Linked DNA regions of Homo sapiens: region 1 is linked to region 2. The links are contacts of gene promoters, found by promoter capture Hi-C in human tissues and cell types (Jung and others, 2019). All regions are on one chromosome and are shown on one strand. The core of a region is centred on a gene start or on the middle of the fragment in contact, and the rest is flanking DNA. Distances in the headings are between cores, read along the strand shown. Region 1 has its middle 7.3 kb from the start of BNC2. Region 2 holds the start of CNTLN (centlein).

Evidence for each region. Contacts are between HindIII fragments. The study calls those that stand out against the background at their distance.
Region 1: a fragment that was not itself captured here is called in contact with the fragment with the promoter of CNTLN in region 2 in 1 of the 25 tissues and cell types used here (small bowel).

What each region holds. Positions count from the first base shown.
Region 1 is chr9:16,875,249-16,880,639 of GRCh38, forward strand. No RefSeq gene overlaps it. Among named protein-coding and RNA genes, the nearest start is that of BNC2, 7.3 kb to the left of the region's middle. The HindIII fragment of the contact is 4,359 bases long and covers 567-4,925 here.
Region 2 is chr9:17,131,603-17,137,123 of GRCh38, forward strand. It overlaps CNTLN (centlein), which reads left to right and starts at 3,438. Exons shown (of 26, transcript NM_017738.4): 1 at 3,438-3,823. The coding sequence starts at 3,464. RefSeq lists an enhancer at 3,719-4,282. The HindIII fragment of the contact is 19,584 bases long and covers 1-5,521 here.

The sequences.
Region 1 (5,391 bases), core at 1,496-3,995, 260 kb before region 2:
GACCTTAGGGCCAAACAAGTTCAGTGTAAGAATATGCGGGGGGGGGAAAGCTTTTTCTTTTGGAGAATGTAGGAAACACTGTTGACTTCCTACGCCAGCCATCCTCAAAGTATGGTCTCGGGACCCCTAAGGATCACCAAGACCCTTTTAGGAGGTCCATGAAGTCAAAACTATTTTTATTACAATACTGGGAAATTATTTGCTTTTCTTACATTCTCTCCTGTGTGTACAGTGGAGTTTTCCAATGACACTGTAACAGGTGGTATCACAACAGACTGAATGCAGAACCAGATACGAGAACCCACCTGTCTTAATCAGCTGTTAAAGAAATGTGCCAAAAATGTAAATCAGTGCACTCCTCTTCTCGCTTTTTTTCTTTTTGTGATGGAATCTCTCTGTGTCGCTCAGGCTGGAGTTCAGTGGCGCAATCTCGGCTCACTGCAACCTCCGCCTCCCAGGTTCAAACAATTCTTCTGCCTCACCCTCCCGAGTAGCTGGAACTACAGGTGCGTGCCACATCCGGCTAGTTTTTGTATTTTTAGTAGAGACGGGGTTTCATCATTTTGGCCAGGCTAGTCTCAAACTCCTGACCTCAAATGATCCACCCACCTCGGCCTCTCAAAGTGGAATTACAGGCGTGGGCCACCGCACCGATCCTGTTTTTGTTTTTCATTTTAAAATGTGAGTATATATTCATTTCCTGTAGCTGCCATTGTGTCCGGAATTCGTGGATTCTTACTCTGACTTCAAGAATGAAGCCGCGGACCCTCACGGTGAGTGTTACGGTTCTTAAAGATGGCGTGTCTGGAGTTTGTTGCTTTTGACGTTCAGATGTGTTTGGCGTTTCTTCCTTCTGGTGGGTTCATGGTCTTGCTGGCTCAGGAGTGCAGCTGCAGACCTTCGCGGTGAGTGTTACAACTCTTAAGGCAGGGCCTCTGGAGTTGCTTGTTCCTCCCAGGGGGTTCGTGGTCTCACTGGCTTCAGGAGTGAAGCTGCACACCTTCGCAGTGAGTGTTATAGCTCATAAAGGCAGTGTGGACCCAAAGAGTCAGCAGCAGCAAGATTTATTGCAAAGAACAAAGCTTCCACAGGGTGGAAGGGGACCCAAACCGGTTGCCCCTGCTGGCTCGGGCAGCCTGCTTTTATTCTCTTATCTGGCCCCACCCACATCCTGCTGATTGGTCCATTTTACAGAGAGCTGATTGGTCTGTTTTACAGAGAGCTGATTGGTCTGTTTTGACAGGGTGCTGATTGGTGCAGTTACAATCCTTGAGCTAGACACAAAAGTTCTCCACCTCCCCACTAGATTAGCTAGATACAGAGTGTCAATTGGTGTATTGACAAACCCTGAGCTAGACACAGAGTGCTGATTGGTGCATTTACAAACTTTGAGCTACATACAGCGTGCCAATTGGTGCATTCACAATCCCTTAGCTAGACATAAAGGTTCTCCAAGTCCCCACCAGATTAACTAGATACACAGTGCCGATTGGTGCATTCACAAACCCTGAGCTAAACACAGGGTGCTGATTGGTGTGTTTACAAACTTTGAGCTAGATACAGAGTGCTGATTGGTGTATTTACAATCCCTTAGCTATACTTAAAGGTTCTCCAAGTCCCCACCAGATTAACTAGATACAGAGTGCTGATTGGTGCACTCACAAACGCTGAGCTAGACACAAGGTGCTGATTGGTGTGTTTACAAAACTTGAGTTAGATACAAAGTGCTGATTGGTGTATTTACAATCCCTTACCTAGACATAAAGACTCTCCAAGTCCCCACCAGACTCAGGAGCCCAGCTGGCTTCACCCATTGGATCCCGCACTGGGCTGCAGGTGGAGCTGCCTGCCAGTCCCGCACCCTGCGGGACTGGGCTCCATGGAGCTGGGAGTGGTGCTCGTCAGGGAGGCTCCGGCTGCACAGGAGCCCATTGGAGGGGCGGGGTGGGCTCAGGCATGGCAGGCTGCAAGTCCCAAGCTCTGCCCGGCTAGGAGGCAGCTAAGGCCCCTAGAGAAATCGAGAAGGAGCACAGCAGCTGCTGGCCCAGGTGCTAAGCCCCTCACTGTCCGGGGCTTGCTGGCCTGCTGGCCGATCCAATTGCGGGCCCGCTGAGACCACACCCACCCAGAACTCGTGCTGGCCCACAAGCGCCACGCGCAGCCCTGGGTTCCCACCTGCACCTCTCCCTCCACACCTCCCGGCAAGCTGAGGGAGCCGGCTCCTGCCTTGGCCATACCAGAAAGGGGCTCCCACGGTGCAGCGGTGGGCCGAAGGGCTCCTCAAGCACAGCCAGAGTGGGCGCCAAGGCCTAGGAAGCGCAGAGAGGGAGTGTGGGCTGCGAGGGCTGCCAGCACGCTGTCACCTCTCACCGTGACAAATTACCACAGATTAAGTGGATTAAACAACACAAATTCATTATAATTTTAGAGGTCAGAAATCTGAAATAGGTTTCACTAAACTAAAACATGTTTGTGAGCCTGTGTTTCTTTTTGGAGTCCCTAGGGGAGAATCTATTTCCTTATTTCTTACAGATTCTAAAGGTCACCCCCAATGCTTGGCTTATGGCCCCCTTCCATCTTCAAAGCCTGTAATAACCAGACATGTCTTTCTCATGCCATACCACTGTGACACTGAGCCTTCTTCCTCCCTCTTTCAATTATAAGTACATGAGTGATTACACTGGGTCTATCTAGATGATGCAGGATAATCTCCCCATCTCAAGATCGTTAATTTAATCATATCTGCATATTCACAGGTTTCAGGGATTAGGATATGAACCATCATTAAGGGTCATTATTCTGTCTACCACAGTATAGTAACAAGTGATGGGTTTAATATTGTTATTTTAAATGAATTAATAACAAATTTTTCTCATAAAATAAACATCAGTAGCTATTGATGTTTATCAACAAAAGCTCTAGGTGGCGTGGTGGCTCACGCATGTAGTCCCAGCACTTTGGGAGGCGGAGGCTGGCAAAGCACCTGAAATCAGGAGTTCGATACCAGCCTGACCAACATGGGGAAACCCTGTGTCTGCTAAAACTACAAAATTAGCTGGGCGTGGTGCTGCATGCCTGTAATCCCAGCTACTCAGGAGGCTGAGGCAGGAGAATCGCTTGAACCCATGAGGCGGAGGTTGCAGTGAGCCGAGACTGTGCCATTGCACTCCAGTCTGGGCAACAAGAGCGAAACTCTGTCTCAAAAAAAAAAAAAAAAAGCTCTTTGAATTCTTCAATAATTTTTAAGACGTCATGAGATCGTGGCTGGGCGTGGTGGCTCACGCCTGTAATCCCAGCACTTTGGGAGCCTGAGGTGGGTGGATTGCCTGAGGCCCGGAATTCAAGACTAGCCTGGCCAGCATGGCAAAACCCCATCTCTACTAAAAATACAAAAATTAGCCGGGCGTGGTGGCGGGCACCCTACTGTAATCCCAGCTATTCGGGAGGCTAAGACAGGAAAATCCCTCGAACCCAGGAGGCAGAGGTTGCAGTGACCCGGGATGACGCCACTGCACTCCAGCCTGGGCGACAGAGCAAGACTCCGTCTCAAAAAAAAAAAAAAAACCAAAGAGATCGTTAGAGAATGGCTGGTGTACACAACAGTTAGTGTCCCTTCCATACCTCAGGTTAAACTAGATTGTTCTAAACCCATTATGGTGGCCCTCTTCCCCCTTGCTGTCATTGGTTTAAGGATGAGCATGTTAGTTCTAGCCAATGAAGGATGAGGAAGTCATTGGAGGGGTGTCAGGGAAAGATTATGCATTAAAACTAAAAAAACCAAAATGGCAAGAAATAGATTGTCCCTTTTCTGCTCTGGATGTTAGTATATGAGACTGTGGTACTTCAAAGCAGCTGCATCCACCTTGTGACCAAAAGGGACCCCACATACCTGGAATGATAGAGTGGGAAGGTGGTAAGCCCCTGAGCTCTTGTTGATGTTACTGACTTACTGAATTAACTAACCCCAGATGGCGTGAAACTTCTTGTTATGTGATATAATCAATCCCCTTATCATTTAGTCTATTTTGAGGTTGCATTTTATTAATTGCAGCTTGAAGCTTTCTAAATTACAGAGAAATGACATGTCTATTTACAGTTTCCATGTAGGAATTCCCTCCTGTCATTTCCTATAAAATTTACATATTTTTTTCCAAATTCTGAGAAAAATCTATGAAGAAATCAGTAAAACGGGAAAAGTATTATCATTTATCATTCCCCTGTGAGAATTAAAAGTTAACAATCAACAGAGACAGTACTAGTTAGCATGAACTCAACAGCAGGAAATGCTGACACAAAGTGGAGTTAAGGTGACATTTTCAGAAGTGGTTACCATCTAATCAGTTAGTTTTATTTGTAGTTGTGGCCACATAAGTGTGTGTTCCTGGCCCCCATCTGCTCCTGTTGATGAGTCATTCTTGCAAATTAAGTAAATGTAAGTTTATTGCATAAAATATTATTTACAAATCCTATGAGTTGTCTTTCAAGAAATAACATGTTTTAGAAACAAAGTAAGTCCTTACATAGACAATTTCAACACACGATTTTGTGTAGTGCTCTTAACTTTTCTAGGAGATCCTGAATGTTACGTTATTCAAATACTACCCAATATATTCACAATGGACTACAGTTCTTGGTAAATAAAAAGAAAAAATATATAAATGTTATGGAAAAAAATATGAATTTTAAAAAGCAATTCAATCTCAGTAGCAAAACAAAAATAAGAGCAGACAAAATATTGTCATCACTAAAAGAGAAAATGAGTTTATACGGAGGAATATATACACTAATGTCAACTTTAGCATGCTTTCTGACTTAATCTTAAAAATCTGACTTCCTCTTATCAATTTGACCAATGTCAACAGGAAATGAAAGAAATTTTCTACCTATGGAAACTTTATCAAGAAACCAAGATCAAGACTATCAGATAGGGCAACTTATGTTTTCTGTTTAAAATGTTTATTTTAACAATGGTAACTTTCTTTTTTTTTTTTTTTTTTTTTTGAGACGGAGTCTCGCTCTGTTGCCCAGGCTGGAGTGCAGTGGCGCAATCTCAGCTCACTTCAAGCTCCGCCTCCCAGGTTCACGCAATTCTCCTGCCTCAGCCTCCCAAGTAGCTGGGAGTACAGGTGCATGCCACCACACCCAGCTAATTTTTTGTATTTCCAGTACAGATGGTGTTTTGCCATGTTGGCGAGGCTGGTCCTGAGCTCCTGACCTCAGGTGATTCACCAGCCTCAGCCTCCCAAAGTGCTGGGATTACAGGCATAAGCCACCGTGTCTGGCTCTTGCCCTGTTTTCCACCATGTCAAGGCAAATTGTAATGTCTTCTTCTCAAGGCTCACTTTTTTTCAACGCCCACACCTTGTACAGTGCCTGGTACCTAATAGTTGT
Region 2 (5,521 bases), core at 2,188-4,687:
CATTTTTATTCACATAGCAGTGCAGATATTTAACTTATCCTTCTGAGTCATAAGTGTTTGTATTTAACATTTCATCCGTTTCTGTCATTTCAGCAAATAACTAATACAAGAAAGAACTCCTTATGCATACTTCTAGAAATGTGCACGTTTCTTTTCTTAAAAATTGTCTGCCAGTAAAGAACTTTTATAACTCTACAACAAAAAGACAAATAACCCAATTAAAAAATAGCAAAGAACTTGAATAAATAGATATTTCTCCAAAGAAGAGAAACAAATGTCCAAAAAATACATGAAAATATGCTCATTGTCATTAGTCATGGGGAAAAATACAAATGAAAACCACAAGGAGACAGCACTTTACACCCACTAGACTGGCCATAAAAAACAAACAACAACGCATGCTCTCACTCATAGGTGGGAATTGAACAATGAGAACACTTGGACACAGGGTGGGGAACATTACACACTGGGGCCTGTCATCGGGTGGGGGGAGGAGGGAGGGATAGCATTAGGAGATATACCTAATGTAAATATGAGTTAACGGGTGCAGCACACCAACATGGCACATTTATACCTATGTAACAAACCTGCACGTTGTGCACATGTACCCTAGAACTTAAAGTATAATTTAAAAAAAGCAAATGACACAAAACTAAAACAAAAAATAAGTGTTGGTGAGGATGATGAGAAATTAGAATGCTAATACATTGCTTATGGGAAGGTAAAATGACACAACCACTGTGGAAAAGAGTTTGGTGATTCCTCAGTAAATTAAACATATGACCTAGACATTCTACTCATAGGTATATAAACAAAAAATTGAACATAAATGTTCAGACAAAAACCTGTACGTGAATGTTTATAGCAGCTCTGTTCACAATAGGCAAAAGGCAGAAAGAACCCAAAGGTCCATTAACAGATGAATGGATAAACAAAATGGAGGATATCCATACAATGGTATATTTTCAGCTATAAAAAAGAATGAAGTACTAATACATGCCATAACATAGATGAACCTTGAAAACATTATGCTAATAAAAGAAAACAGACACAAAAGGCCACATATTATATGGTTCCATTGATATGAAATATCCCAAACAGGCAAAACCGTAGAGACATAAAGGGAATTAATGGTTGCTTGGGGCTCGGGGGCAGTGAGAATGTGGAGAGACTAATGTGGGTATGTGGTTTCCGCCTCCGGTGATGAAAATATTCTGGAACCAGATAGTGGTGGTGGTTGCCTAACATGGTGAATGTAGTTAATGCTGCTGAATTGTTTTTTATTTGTAGCCATTTTATTTATTTATTTATTTTTTGAGACAGTCTTGCTTTATCACCCAGGCTGGAGTGCAGTGGTATGATCTTGGCTGTTTGCAACCTCTGCCTCCCGTGTTCCAATGATTCTCCTGCCGTGGCCTCTCTAGTAGCTGGGATTACGGGAATGCACCACCACTCCCAGCTAATTTTTGTATTTTTAGCAGAGACGGGGTTTCACTATGTTGTCCAGGCTGGTCTCGAACTCCTGGTCTCAAGTGATCCACCAGCCTCGGCCTCCCAAAGTGCTGGGATTGCAGTCGTGAGCTACCACGCCTGGCCTATTTGTAGCCATTTAAAATGCCTACGATGGTAAATTTTATGTTGTGTATTTTGTGTATTTTGCTCCAATAAAGACAAAATTTAAAAAAATGCCTAGTCAAAGAGTCAGGATATTATCCTTTTGGGAGGTCACATATACATATTTATACCACTGCTTTTCAAAAGGATCTTTTTATGATCAGGTGAAATGATGTCCTTTTGAGTGAATGACATACAGCAATTAAAAATGTGCATTAATACTGATTTGGGGCCAAACACGTAACTTATGTGGTTAGACTTCCCAGTCTTAAGTCTAGTGAAATCTCACAGACTATCAAGACCAAATGTTGTATTTCAAGTCACAGGTGTGGAGACAGGGTAGCGATCAAAGTACAGGTTTTCAGAGTTAAGTGGAATTCAGTGAATTCAAAGCCTAGCTTTTCTGATACCAGACATGGCACTTCAGAGAAGTTACAGTAACCTTGCAAGTCTGTTTCCTCACTAGTAAAAATGGAGATATATAATAATCTAATTGAAGGTGACATATGTATTAAGTGAGTTCATATATGAAAAGTGCTTAGCACTGGACTCAGCATATGGTAAATGTTCAGTAGGTTAGCTAGTTCTAAGACAGGCTTATAAACATACTTTTTCTAATGTACTCTTTAATAAGTTTTTGTGAGGAATTCACCTTCAGTTTGAAAGAAGTCCACTTATCTTGGTTGCCTTGGCAGGATTCTAATTGGGAGGGTGTCTTTTGGCATCCTGACTAGATTCTCATGCAGAGATGGTGATATTTTGGTTAAATGAAGTTAACAGTAAAGTGGTCATCTCTCTACTTCTGCTCTCAACCCCCATCTCAGCTTTCCCCAAGTATTCTGGAACCCTTTCTGAAGAAGAGGGCAGTTCTAACTTTCAGGGATGTTCTGGTGCCAGCTCAATATGCATCTCATTAATCTTATCAATAGTAACAAAGTATTTGAAGGGCAAAGAAAGATACGATTACTACCTATTTGAAGTTTATAAAGAAAGCCAGAAGAAAAAGAAAAAAAAGAGAACAAAAGATAAAGTAGGTCTTGTTTCTTCATCCACGCTCCAAATTACTGATTTCAAACTGCTCCAAGGACCCAAACTGTTCAGCAATGTGGGCTACACTTCCTCTGATATCCAGCCAACGCATAAAGAAGCTGACATAAAAACTCAAAGGAAATCATGACTCCTGCAAAACAAAAGACAAAGGGTGTACAAAGGATCATCATTCAAGTTGGAAACCTGCTTGATAGTCCCAGATCAGCACAAGGCTTTCCACATCTCCTTGACATTAGTCAGCTGGATGTCAGCTGTACTAAAGCAGTTTTGCCAAGGGGTGTGAAGAAAACACTTAAGTGTAAAACGTATTCCTTGATCCTCAAGGAGCTTACAACAGGGCTGGGGAGATTAGCCGTGTAACTGACACTCCAGGGCGGTCAATGAAACGTGTCACACGAGTTGGCAGGGGCCTTGAAGGAGAGGGATTTCACAGTTAAGGATCATTTGGGGCTGGGGGCTTGTCAAGGAAGGCTTTAAGAGGTGGGATGTAAGTGGCAGGCAGGGCTTTAGGTGGGCGGGAAATCCAGGCGATCCTGGCCAAGGACTCAGGCACAGGACGCTGGGATGGCCTGCCCGGCGGACCGGCCTTACCCTTTCGGGCCACGGCGCGTGCGTACCCCAAGGCTCGCGCTGGGCGCATTGCCCGCGGGAAGCCGGCCAGGACCAGAGAACACGGGACACCGCGGGCCAAGGCGGGAAAAGCCTCGCGCATGCGCGGTTCGGCGTTCCGGGCTCGCCGGGTTGGGGAAAGGGAGGTGGAGTTTCCAACAGGGAACTTGACCCGTTAGCAGCCGCAGCCATGGCGGCGCGTTCGCCTCCCTCACCGCACCCTTCGCCCCCAGCGCGACAGCTGGGCCCCAGGTCCCCACGTGTTGGGCGGGGAGCTGAAGTACACGCAATGCGCAGCGAGGCCTCGGGTTTTGCCGGCGCAGCGCGGGAGGTGGTCGCGGACGAAAGTGATAAAATCTGGGTGGGTGAAGAAGGGTCAGGGGGCCGGCGAGGGCCTGGGGGGGCAGCTCCGGCTCATGCTCCCCTCCTCAGCGCGCCCATGGGGTCCAGACGGCTAGAGGGCATCTCGGTAGAGGAGGCGATGGTGACCCGGACGCAGCTGCTGGAGGAAGAGCTGAGCAGCCTAAAGGAGGAGTTGGCCCTGTGTCAGGTATCGAGGAGTCTCGCAGTCCCCCTTTCCCCACCACAGCGGGGCCGGGACCCGTGGGGAGGCGCGCCTTTCTCCCTCTGCCTTGGGACCTACCCCGCCCAGCGACGCTCCCTGGCAGATGCACACCCTGCTTCGCTCGCGGCCGGGGGCTGGAGGGACGCGGCTGCGCCCGGCTCCCCAAACCCGGGCCCCTGCCCCTTTCCGAACTGCGGCCAGACAGGCTTCGCCTCCGCGCCCGGGTTTGGTTTTGGTCACTTGGATACTCGCAGTCGCATCCTCTCCGCTTCCCCCCCAAGCCCAAGTTCTTGGTGGTGACGGTAGCTGATACCTGCCGGGGGCCCAGGAGTGACATGCAGTCCACTAGTTGAAATGAACAGGAAAGTGTAAACACTTCGGTTAGAGTAAAATCCATCGATGAAGGAGCCTGTTTTTAAAATTTCAAACCCACACTTGGCTTTGTTTTTACCCAGTCAAACTTAAGTTGTAAACACAGACGAGTAACGTTTAGAAAGTCTCAGAGCCGGGAACTTAACAATAGATGATGCTTGGTACTTGTTTATTAACCAGCTATGGTAATTCCGCGGTCCTTGAGTGAGAAATCACATTTTCATGTGATCTTGCCAGTGAAAAACATTTGCTAAATCAATTGCATTAAAATTACTTTCCTGTTTGTAGAGTTTTTGTAAGGATGGACTTGACTATACTCATGTTCAAAGAGATTGAATTTTCCTTTAGTTTTGCATCCTTACCATCATCTCTTTTGATTTTACCAGAACCTTTAGATAGGGTTGGGAGATTGGATGTGGGAAACTCACTGAACAGTAGATCTTTAAGTCACTCTGTCTTCAACTTAGAAACCAATTAGGAGCTGCTGAACATCAAAGTAACTTTGTGAACAGTATCATCAGTTTAATAAAACAGTTCATGAAATTCATTCTCTGTCGCCCAGGCTGGAGTGCAGTGGTGCAGTCTCAGCTCACTGCAAGCTCCGCCTCCCGGGTTCACGCCATTCTCCAGCCTCAGCCTCCCGAATAGCTGGGACTACAGGTGTCCGCCACCACGCCTGGCTAATTTTTTGTATTTTTAGTAGAGATGGGGTTTCACCGTGTTAGCCAGGACAGTCTCGATCTCCTGACCTCGTGGTCCGCCAGCCTTGGCCTTCCAAAGTGCTGGGATTACAGAAATTCATTCTCTCATAGTTTGTTCTGTTGGATTCTTTTGCCCATTTTATAGGTCCTTGCTGACTGAGTGAAGGGTGTAAAAATGGGACCATCTTCAAATTGAATGTGCCTTTGGTTAAACAAGGTTGGGACATTTAATATGGTGCCCTCTTTTCGTTTTACCATTTTTCTGTTCTTCGTTGGATAAGGAGCAAAGGGATAAATAAATGACAACAATGAATTGAAGCATTTGTCATCTGCAGACCTCACCCTTTGGGGAGTTTTAAGATGTGAACCCATGATAAAGGCCTTTGATACTCTGAGTCCTAATCTAAGACACTCTTTGGCATATTTTCCGCACTCTTTCCTCCCACTTCTGCCTCCCCACATAGTTAGGCCTTTAGCTGGCTAAAGAGCTAAGATACTTTTTTATGACCGACTTGGTTAAGGAAGTCAGTCTATTGGAAACAGCCTGATGAACCTCTTCCCACAAATACTTACATTCTTTAAAAATGTGGCTCCAAACATGGTGTTGGCT